Linked DNA regions of Homo sapiens: region 2 is linked to region 1. Evidence: promoter capture Hi-C in 16 types of primary human blood cells and fetal thymus (Javierre and others, 2016). All regions are on one chromosome and are shown on one strand. Each heading gives the region's core, a stretch centred on a gene start or on the middle of the fragment in contact. The rest is flanking DNA. Distances are from core to core; before and after follow the strand shown. Region 1 holds the start of KRT79 (keratin 79). Region 2 holds the start of KRT1 (keratin 1).

Region 1 (5,807 bases), core at 953-3,452:
CTGCAGAAAGAAGGTCTGAGCGTGCATGTCCTGTCTGAAGGTAGAGTGGAGAGTAGGGGCTGGTGGAGGCAAAGTGCCCTCCCAGGCTTCTGTCTGGGCCTGGGCTGTGAACCTGGGTGGGAGGGAGGCTGTCTCCAAGCAGCAAGCCGGGAGCTCCATGAGAGTGTGCCCTGGTCCCTGTGTGCCTGTCACCAGCTCCCAGCACAAAGCGTGGCCCAGAGAGCGTGCTTGGTAAATGTGTGCAAGGGACTGGCGTGAGTGTCGTGTCTGGGGTGAGGTGAGACTTGTGTTTATCGACTGCCTCTCACTCCCACCAGCCTGGCTGCCCTGTGACTCAGAGGGCTGACAACACTTCCTTGCCCAGGGGGCCCACAGCCACATCCTGGAGGCTAGGGCCCACTCATGACTGTTTCCTCCTCCCACGCCACCCAGGGAGAGATAAGGGAGGCTGAGAAAGTGATCTCAGCCTGGGGAAAGGAGACGAAGGTCAGTGGGAAGGGGCGGCTTCATCCAGGGATCACTTTTCGAAAGGTCTTCCACGGAGGGCCCTGCTTATAGGCAGAGAAAATGGGGCTCAGAGAAGTTGCGAGTTGCCCCAGGACACACAGCTCAGTGTGGGAGACGTCTCGGCTTGGCTCCCTGAAATGCCCAGTGTCCTAACTCCAAAATCTCCTCTTGGCTATTAAGGGACTAGTTCTGCAAGTGCTCTCACTCCCATTCCTTGTGGGAGCTGGGTTCAACCTCTTCAAGCAACGGGGAGCCACTTACAGCCTCCCAGGGGCCCTAGGAGAAGATCCCACAGCTCCCTCTGGTCCTGGAGCAGGCTGTCTCTTCACTTGCTGGGCTGTGGGGAACATGGGAGGGAGGCCAAGCCTTCTCCGTGGCAGTCCCATGTCCTCTCTGTTGGGATCCTGGGGACACAGCCTGGCTGGTTGTCCTGCTCATCTGATGGGGGTGGGGAGCACAGCGATGCTGTCCTCGCTCCTTTTTTTCAGGCAAGTCTCTGTTCACTTTGAGCCCATCTTCTTGCTGAGAGAAGGGGGTGGGGAGGGCCAGTGTCTAAAGTCACCTCCTCAGTCACCCCTCGGCCCTGACAGTTGACGTCTCTGTCTTTGCTTGGGGCTGTGTTTGGTCCCAGCAGACTGAGGTGAATAGGAAGTGGGCGGCGGGGACCATATGAGGTGATTTAAGGAGCTCCCCTGGCCCCTCTGAATCAGAAACATGGGCTCCTGCATGTGGGGCAGGGGAAGATGGGAGTGACGGGGCTGCTGCGTGGGCCTCCTGGGGCTTTTTTGGAACACCTGCTTTTTGGAGCTGTGCCTGTCTCCACCCAGGGTGGTCTGTGTCCTTGACCCACCTCCAGCTCCCTCCAAAGTGGCTGAACCTTTCTGTGGGGACTCTGCTGTGGGGTAGAGGCTCAGGGATCTCAGGTATTGGTTAAATCCCCTGCCCTCTCTTCAGCCTCCATAAGAATGTCCTTTGCTCCCAGGCTTCTGGGCCCTGCCTGAGGACCCCAGGCCTTTTCTACCTCCTGATCAAGGGCCTGGGCCCCACGATTGGGCAGGGATCCTCTTTCTGTCCTTGAATTCACTTTGCCAGCATAGGCTCACTTCCCAGAAGGCTCTGCCACTGTACGGCAGAGGCACAGGCTATCCCCACTCTCGCCCTGTCACCTGTGTCACACACCCTGGACCTGGGAGGAGTGGTGGGCCGTTGGCTGGGGGTGGGATGGGAGCAGGCCTGGATGCTCTCTCTGGCAGCCCATTGCCCAATGCTCCTTCTCCTACCACCTGTACAGCCCCAGGCCCTGCAGCCTTGGCTTACAACAGGGGCCTGGGACAAACCCCGTAGAACAGAGCCCTATTGACAGTGGCCTCTGGGGCTGGGTGGGAGGACAGCAAGCCAGCCACTGGGTGGTGGGGGTGGCCATGGGAGCCCGTATCATCCTGTGCCAACCGAGGAGAGCCTGGGGGCAGGGGGAGAAGGTGGCATCCTGCCCCAGACAGTCTCGGCTCAGCCCCAGCTCTGGAGCACAGGTGATAACCGGGAGGGCCCCTCCCTCCTGCTTGGGGAGAGGGCACTCCCCGTGGCCCTAAGGACCCCTCCCTCTCCCCTTGGGGCGATGGGGCAGGAGTGTCTGTGGAGCTGGGGAGCCGGCCCAGTTGGGAAAAGATAAAAAGCCCACAGTGGCCCAGCAGCTCACGGCACTCCCTTCCTGCCCTCTCATCCTGCCCTCCGGCCCCTCTGCAGCTATGAGGTCCTCCGTCTCTCGGCAAACATACTCCACAAAAGGGGGCTTCAGCTCCAACTCTGCCAGCGGAGGGAGTGGGTCCCAGGCCCGCACCAGCTTCAGCTCAGTGACGGTGTCTCGGAGCAGTGGCAGTGGTGGCGGGGCCCACTGTGGCCCCGGCACAGGTGGCTTTGGCAGCCGAAGCCTCTATAACTTGGGGGGCCACAAGAGTATCTCTGTCAGTGTGGCCGGAGGGGCCTTGTTGGGGCGGGCTCTGGGGGGCTTTGGCTTTGGCAGCAGGGCATTTATGGGACAGGGGGCTGGCAGGCAGACGTTTGGGCCTGCTTGTCCTCCTGGGGGGATCCAGGAGGTCACTGTCAACCAGAGCCTGCTGACCCCCCTCCATGTGGAGATTGACCCCGAGATCCAGCGAGTGCGCACTCAGGAGCGGGAGCAGATCAAGACCCTCAACAACAAGTTCGCCTCCTTCATCGACAAGGTGGGCCAAGCAGGAAGGAGGAAGGGAGCTCTTGGGGAAGAAGCGGGACCTCTAATAGAGGGTGGGCTGGGCCAGGGCTGCTGTAGCCCACTTGTACTAGGGTGGTGGTTGATAGAGCTCTGGAGCTCTCCCGGTCTGAGCCTGGGATGCCGAGACGTGGGTGGCTGGAGGCGGCCTTCAGGTCTTCACCGTGCCTGTGCGGGGGGAGTCTCCAGTCTACTCATGAGTCCGGTTTGCCAAGTCCACCTTGCCCGTGTTGAAGCCTGTCCTACCACCATGATTAATACGATTGATTGCACAGTAGCCTTACCTCATCATCAAAAAATGGATTGTCCTCATAGCTCCTCTTAGTGGGGTGGCCTGCATTGCCTTTTGTCATTTTACAGCTGGGGAAACAATGCTCAGGAGTTGAAAGAGTTGTTCAAGGCTAAGAGCATGGAGCCCTGTTTGTTCCATTCTTTCAGGCTTGGAGGAGGCTTAAGGGCAAGATGTGATCAAAACACAGTTGTGTGTGGGTGGGGTCCTAGGGGTAGGCTCCCTTCCGCTTCTCCTTTTTTTACACTCTGAGTGAAGAAGCTCAATTTGGGGTGGACAATGAGGAGGGTGGTCACCAGGTCACCAAGCTCTGGGAATGTGGAATTTGACCTGTTGCCCATAGGCATGCCCTGAACCTTGCCCTTGCCTCCAGATGGATGGGAGCAACACTTGTGCTGGGATTTCCTGGTCTGTTTCGCTGGCATTGTCCACCTCGATCCTGAGCCAAGGCAGCGGGTCATGATGGGGAAGGTCTGGCAGACAAATGTACCTTGGTTCAGTGATTTGTGTGTTTCCGAAGAACATGCACATCCCTTTTCTCCTGAGGTACCCACAGTGCTTCTATGAAGACTCAGAAATGGTGATATTGTGCCCATTTTTGAGATGAGAAAATTGAGGTCTAGAGAGCTCAAGTGATTTGCCCAGGATGATACAAGGAGTTGGAGGCAGAGGCGGGACTGGGACCCAGGCCCCTGGACTCTGTGGTTCTTGGCACTAAGAGTTGTTACTGCTCACAATAGGCACACCTGCTGCATGATGCTCCCAGGGCATGTGACTGAGGCCCAGGTAGTGTGGAGATGGGACCTGGAGATATTGGATGACAGAATATGAAGCAAGCCGTCTTGCCTGCCTCCTCACCCTCTCCCCTAGTGACTTTTGGTTTTCCTGTGGGACTGTCCCAGAGGCCAAACAAGCCAAAACCTTTCTCAGGATTGCAGAATCACAGCTTGGGAGCTGGAGGTCTGAGAGATTGTCTTGGAACCCCAGCTGGGCCAAGAACTCTCGGGGGTCCTGTTAAACCCACACCGTAAGCCTCCTTCTGAGTCTATAGAGGAAGGGCTCAGACATTGGTACTTTAAAAAAAGTTTTTTTTGGGAAAAAATGTTGAATTTACAGAAAAGTTGCAAGAATAGTACAACATACTCCTGTATACTCTTTCACCCAGTTCACCAATTTTCTTAATTTATTATTATTATTTTTTGAGACAGGGTCTTGCTCTGTTTCCCAGACTGGAGTGCAGTGGTACAGTCATAGCTCACTGCAGCCTCCATCTCTTGGGCTCAAGTGATCCTCCCACTTCAGCCTCCTGAGTAGCTGGGACTACTGGTGCATGCCACTACACCTGGCTAATTGTCTTGATTTTTAGTGGAGACAGTCTTGCTATGTTGCCTAGGCTGGTCTTGAACTCCTGAGCTCAAGCACTCCTCCAGCTTCAGGCTCCCAAAGTGTGTGATTTTAAACAGTTGATTTACATTTTAAACAGATGATTTTAATGCAGAATTAGGGGTCAGAAACATAGATCTAGTCCAGTTTATGCAGGACAAGTGAGAGAGGGAGACTCAGAGAGAAATGATTCGACCAAGGTTACCAACTAGTAAATTGGTACTGCTACTGAGCTGGGCTTTTGTGCTTATTAACTTGGTAGAGTTCTTTCCATCAGATTGGACGGTCGTTTCCAGCAGTCTATTCCCCTAAGGAGTGCCTCCCCACAGCAAAGTGTAGGTGCGGCTGCAGCGTCCCTATGTTGCCCTGGCCTTGGAGGGGAGGTGGCAATGGACCCCATCCTTGGCTCCTCTGGTGACCGGAGGGTGACATCAGCCCACCCTTTCTGCTCTGGCTCAGGTGCGGTTCCTGGAGCAACAGAATAAGGTGCTGGAGACCAAGTGGGCACTGCTGCAGGAGCAGGGCCAGAACTTGGGTGTCACCAGGAACAACCTGGAGCCCCTCTTTGAGGCCTACCTGGGTAGCATGCGGAGCACGCTGGACAGACTTCAGAGCGAGCGGGGGAGGCTGGACTCAGAGCTCAGGAACGTGCAGGACCTTGTGGAGGACTTCAAGAACAAGTGAGGAGAGCAGGCCAGGCGGGGCCATGTGGGAGTGAGGAGGGGCAGTGGGAAACCTGCCAAGAGGGCCACCCCATTCCCAGGGTCCCAGGCCCACCTGGGGGATGCACAGACAGAGCTGGCTCCCTCAGGTGCTCAGGTCCAGCACCTGCTGCCACCTGGAGAATTGGCAGGTTTGTTTGTAATTTAAAAAAGTTTTTAAAGTAGGGGGAATAGTATAATGAACCCCATGTTCCTGTCACCCAGCTTTAATCATTATCAACTCATAACCAATCTTGTTGCATTTTTTACACCTCCCCACTTCCCTTCTTCCCGTGTAGTCTTTTTTTTTTACCTTTGCCTTTTTCTACGTGTTCTGATTCCCTTGTAGTCTTGAAGCAAATCCCAGACATCTTGTCATTTCATTCACTAATATTTTACAAGTTATATTCATATATCTGCATGTGAATGTAGTTCATCTATGACTCAGTAAAACATACAGTGGCATAATCACACCTAAAAAATTTTAAAACAATAATTCCTCAATATCATTAAATATCCAGCCAGTTTTGAATTTCCAGTGACCCCATACATGTCATAAATTTAAAAAATACAGCTTATTTGACTCAAGCTCCAAAGGTTTATATATTATAATTGGTTGATATGCGTATTTATAACTTTTAAACACGCACATTTAAAAATGACTTTTCCCATAAATTGA
Region 2 (5,406 bases), core at 2,536-5,035, 150 kb after region 1:
CTAAGTCTGGCAGCAGCCGAGCTTGGAAAAAGAGACCAATAGAGCACTTGCCCGATGTGGACTGAGGAAAACTCCCTGGAGGAGATGAGATCTGGACCTGTCTGCTGCCTGCTTGAGCGAGAGATGAAGGCATTTGCCCACAAGCCCTGATGGACCAAAAACAGATTCAGGACCAAATGCTCAGGAATTGAGATCTTTGGTGCCCCAGAGCTTGACTATGGGTAGGGATTTGTGGCAAGTTGCCGAGGCAACCAGAAGACCTTTCAGAAAAGAGAAGAGTAGAAGTGGGCTTGGAAGACAGAGAGGAACAGGGATGGAAAGGGAAGAAGAGGGTTGATCAGTCTGGGCAAAGCACGAGAGTGAAGGGGTCAAGGCGTGAGGCCGGGGGAGTGGGTGAGCAGGGTAAGATGTAGGTGGTGCTGGTGGTGAGAGCAGGCCAATGACAGAAGGAGCCCATGTGATGCGGCGGGCTTGGACTCTGGAGTGAGGCAAGCGTGGCTTGTCAGTTACCTGCTGGATGACTTTGGGCACATATTTCAACCTCTATAAACCTAAGATGCCTTTTCTTTAAAATGGGGCTAAGAGCTCCCACGACGCAGACTTTGTGTGGTATTTAAATGCAATGTGGCTCCTAACAGCATAGTTGCTGCCTGTAGATGTTAGTGTCTCTTTCTTTCTCATTTTGTCTTTATTTCATAAATGCACAGTACATAAGTAAGCCAGGAGAGAGTGTGTGGCTCACACCTTTCCTGCATGTGGTTCTTCATATCCCACACACCCACACTGATCCTGGGGACATCACAGGAGATGACGGGCCTGGTCTGGCAGCACTGCAGCTCCAGCTCTGTTGGGCTGCCTCGAAAGTGGGCAGTGGAAAAAGAAAAGGAGTTTGATTCAACAATTGGAAGAGTCTCAGGAATTGACTTATGACTTGGACACTTTTTTTTTTTTTTTTTTTTTTTTTTACTTTTTTGGGCCTGTGCTCTCACTTCTCTGTGAGGCAGGTTAGATGATGTGACCTTTGAGGCCCCATGGATGAGAACATTCTGTAATTCTCTGTGTACTTGTTTATAGGGCCCAGTTCCACTTGCCTGTCTTTGAGCCTCTTCCCGGTTCAGGGAGGAATGTCACTTGAATTGAAATCAGAAAACCCAGATTCTGCTTCCAGATGTGTCTTTTCCTAGCCGGAGTGTCTAGAGGAAGCCACTTAATCTCTGAGAATCAGTTTTCTGTTTCATGAAATGGGTTGAGAACAGCTTGATTGCCTAGTTCTCAGGGCTCTTGTGGGATGCTCTTTGCATATGTGTTTGGTGGGGTGAGCTGTGCAAATGTAAGCTATGGTGAGGTTTATGGCACTTATTCCTGCTAGTCCTGCATTTCTCCCTTCTCACAGGAGCACCTGGGGTATGTTTTGCAGCTAAGTTGTCTACCAATTCCCTGACCATTCATTCAAACCTTTGATTTTTCTGTATGTCAGTTTCTTAGTTCAAAGATGGGAGTGTGGATCACTGCCAAGGTCTGTTTTTGGCTGGCACACACATGCACACAAACATGTGTGCACACAAACATGTGTGCACACACATACTCACACCCCTCCAAAATGCTAGAAGGAATCGATTGTGCAGAACAATATGTCTCATGAGGGAGTATGCTGAACTAAAATAATTTTGATTGCTTGTCAGAAAATGATTAGGCAACAGTCATTACCATGCCAAGACTGTCCCAGTCTCCATTGTTCCTAACAAGACCTGAATTACTCATTCCCTAAAGAGATGGTTGGTTTAGCAGCCGAAGGATTTTAGTGCTAGGACAGAGTCCCAGACAGCAGTGCCACAGTGATGGCGAGGGAGAGGAGTAGCAGGGGAGCGGTGAGGGGCACTTTCTGGAGGAGGGTATAGGGCAAAAACTGGGAGGAGAAGAGGGACAAGGTTCAATAGCGGAGTGCAATGGAGAGGACCGACACAGCCAGCCCGATTCAGAGCCACAGAGTAATGGGACCAGATGATCTTCACAGACTCCCTTTCTCCCATAGATCTTGCACACCATAGTGGAGACTTCCCATGTACATCTATGGTTTGCCACTTACAGAGTTACTTGGAGCCAGCTGAAGTTAGAGCTGGCTTCTCCCCTTTGAGTCTTCAATTCTGTGTTTATGTGCAGGCCCGGGGACCATGCCAGGCTTCTAAGAAGTCTTCGAATGAAAGTCTGCTTGGGCTTCTAGTGTGTCCAGATCTCAGTGCCACTATTATCCACTGATATTGATCAAGTGCTGCTCTCCAGGAAGACCCCTGAGGTTTCCTGGTCCATTGCAATGCATGCTGGGTACTCTTGCACTTGGATGGAAGTAAAATCTCCTCACTAAACTCTGTGCCACCAAAATCTCCTTCTCAGTGTGAATTGAAGAAACATTTTCCAAGACTTGCATGTGCCAGGAGCCAAGGACTCAGAGTGATAAAACAGGCCTTCTGCCCTCAGAGCTCTCTGTGGTGGGGCGCTTCCTGTGCTGTCTGGCTTTACACACAGCAGGCAGAATGACTTGAATTCGGCTGCTGTGCTGTCGTACAACATGCTGTTTAGGATCTTGCACATGATAGCTAGGTATTCTTGCTTCAAATCGCAGGCACCCCACTTACCAACTGTGTAGACTTGATCACGTTATTCAACCCCTGTGTCTCTGCTTCCTCATTTTACAAATGGGGAGAAAAATAGCATCTATCTCAAAGTTGTGAAAATTAAGCAAGTTAATACATATGTGCTACGTAGAACAGTGCCTGGTACATGGTCAGTTTTTGATACATGTTAGGTATTATCATTATTATCACCTCCAGAAACAATTTAAACTTCTCATATAAGGCTCTCCAGACACCTCTCATTGTCTTCCCTTCCAAATCTGCATTTATCTCTCTCTCTTTGCAGTCCAGTGTGAGGCTTGAATCACCTATCAAGCCTCACCTCCACCCCTGTGCTTTACAAAATGTCCTAGAGCTTCTATTTACTCGTCTCACTGCTCTGTGGGCTTTTTCACTCAAGGGCGTTTGCATGCTATCCATTGCTACCTGTTTTCTATTGCTGGTGTCTGTCTCCTGCTCTATCTTTGAAGAAAAGAAACAAGAAAAGGAATAACTGAGAAACAGAGAAAAAAAATGTCTCTCCCTTCTGGTTCTTCCAGACCACCCACTCATCCATCTTGTTCAATGACAGCTTCTCTTCCTTTAATTAATCACTGTGGTATATTTATAAAGCTTATATTTATGAAAGACCTTTTAATTTTTTAGTTATTAAAGCCCTTTCTCTTTGTCAGGTTGTAACTGAGTGAGCTCTGGAGTTTGGAAAGAAGATCTTAGAAATGGGCCAGAGAGCTCCTTCTGAGATCCAAGCACGGGGAATTGCACCTGCTGTGCATGGTAAGAGAGTGTGCTTGGTAGCTCACAAAGGCAAGGTGAGAATAGAAACTTTCATGCCTTTTTGATGGGGGTTATGAAATCCTACCAAGAAACACCAGGTATCAGATGTGGGGTCCTGTTTTCCCAAAGCCACAAATGCTTGAAGGAAGATCTTGTGTGATAAAATAATTACCACATGAACCAATCTTGCATGCACAGCAATTTTGAGAGCCCATCCTGGGAGCTAGGTGTGTAGTGTTTATCGTATTGTTGAGGCTCGTAAAAATCTTGTATGGCTGCAGGCAAGCCAAACCCTTGACAGGCACTGCATCTCCGCTGACTCTAGAAGACCAAGCCCAATTTCTTCCCTGTATATAAGGGGAAGTCTCTATGCTTGGGGTAGAGGAGTGTTTAGCTCCTTCCCTTACTCTACCTTGCTCCTACTTTTCTCTAAGTCAACATGAGTCGACAGTTTAGTTCCAGGTCTGGGTACCGAAGTGGAGGGGGCTTCAGCTCTGGCTCTGCTGGGATCATCAACTACCAGCGCAGGACCACCAGCAGCTCCACACGCCGCAGTGGAGGAGGTGGTGGGAGATTTTCAAGCTGTGGTGGTGGTGGTGGTAGCTTTGGTGCTGGTGGTGGATTTGGAAGTCGGAGTCTTGTTAACCTTGGTGGCAGTAAAAGCATCTCCATAAGTGTGGCTAGAGGAGGTGGACGTGGTAGTGGCTTTGGTGGTGGTTATGGTGGTGGTGGCTTTGGTGGTGGTGGCTTTGGTGGTGGTGGCTTTGGTGGAGGTGGCATTGGGGGTGGTGGCTTTGGTGGTTTTGGCAGTGGTGGTGGTGGTTTTGGTGGAGGTGGCTTTGGGGGTGGTGGATATGGGGGTGGTTATGGTCCTGTCTGCCCTCCTGGTGGCATACAAGAAGTCACTATCAACCAGAGCCTTCTTCAGCCCCTCAATGTGGAGATTGACCCTGAGATCCAAAAGGTGAAGTCTCGAGAAAGGGAGCAAATCAAGTCACTCAACAACCAATTTGCCTCCTTCATTGACAAGGTGAGTTTCTCTCTCATTGCACTGGTAGGGCTGCCGCTGGTCCACTTGGGATTGGTGCAGTCAAAACACAGTAGGTTTGAACCTCAAGTTTCCATGTTTACATGATTAAAAGGATGTTTTGTGGAATGGTCTCCTAGGAGATATGTTAGATGTATGCTTGTGAATGGTGTTAATGACTCTCTCTTTGACAAAGGGTTCGTGGTCGACCTAAAGGTGGGTCAGTGTGACATTAACATTTAAGTGCTTTTTATTCAGCTCTTGAGCGGAATTGGGACTCATATCTGTTGAATGAAGATAATAGAAATGGGGCTAACTGAACTTTCCAGGGTGCAAGTGAGAACCCTGGAAAGGTCTTCCTAACCATAGAAAGGGAGTTGAGTGTGAACATAGTATAGAGTGTTATTGTAGCAGAAAACATGTGGTCAGTCAGTGCCAAACATCTTTTGCTGTCAGAGGGGAGCTCTGCCTTCTAATAATTTTACATTGGTACTGGATGAGGCTAGAGTTTTTTTATACTAATATCTCCAAAAATCAGCTCTAAAAAACTCAGATAAACCATTTTTTTAATTTTTTGCTTAATCATTAATAGTGCCAATCCAAGGTTATCCACAACAAATTTCAAATCCAATTTTGAATTTTCCTGATATACTTTTGAAATGTGTGTGTGTCCTGGGGATGCAAACCAGTTTTTATGGTAATATACCTAACAAAATTTTGGAAGGCAAATCTCTTAAATACCATGCACCTATTTCAAAACATAATTGCAATAATTCTGTATGCGCTTTGCTATTGGTATTTGTTTAGTTACTCCCTTCCAAGCCCTCTCTGAATTAACAAGTTGGGTTTTATTATGCAGATGATATTAACTTGATCATCTTCTTCCTATTTCTCTGTCATGGTCAGAAGATAGGAATTGAGGTTCTTTTCCAAATGAGGCACAGTTCTCCATGGCTATGAGACTCCATTTATGCA

What was found. The method cuts DNA at HindIII sites, captures the fragments that hold promoters and counts their contacts. A CHiCAGO score of 5 or more calls a contact.
Region 2: a contact is called between the fragment with the promoter of KRT1 here and the fragment with the promoter of KRT79 in region 1, in 3 of 17 cell types (naive CD4 T cells, naive CD8 T cells and non-activated CD4 T cells). The highest score is 8.8, in naive CD4 T cells.

Annotation. Positions count from the first base shown.
Region 1 is chr12:52,830,706-52,836,512 of GRCh38, reverse strand. KRT79 (keratin 79) reads left to right here and starts at 2,202. Exons shown (of 9, transcript NM_175834.3): 1 at 2,202-2,729; 2 at 4,887-5,107. The coding sequence starts at 2,253. The HindIII fragment of the contact is 16,661 bases long and covers 1-5,807 here.
Region 2 is chr12:52,678,786-52,684,191 of GRCh38, reverse strand. KRT1 (keratin 1) reads left to right here and starts at 3,785. Exons shown (of 9, transcript NM_006121.4): 1 at 3,785-4,434. The coding sequence starts at 3,844. The HindIII fragment of the contact is 12,025 bases long and covers 3,245-5,406 here.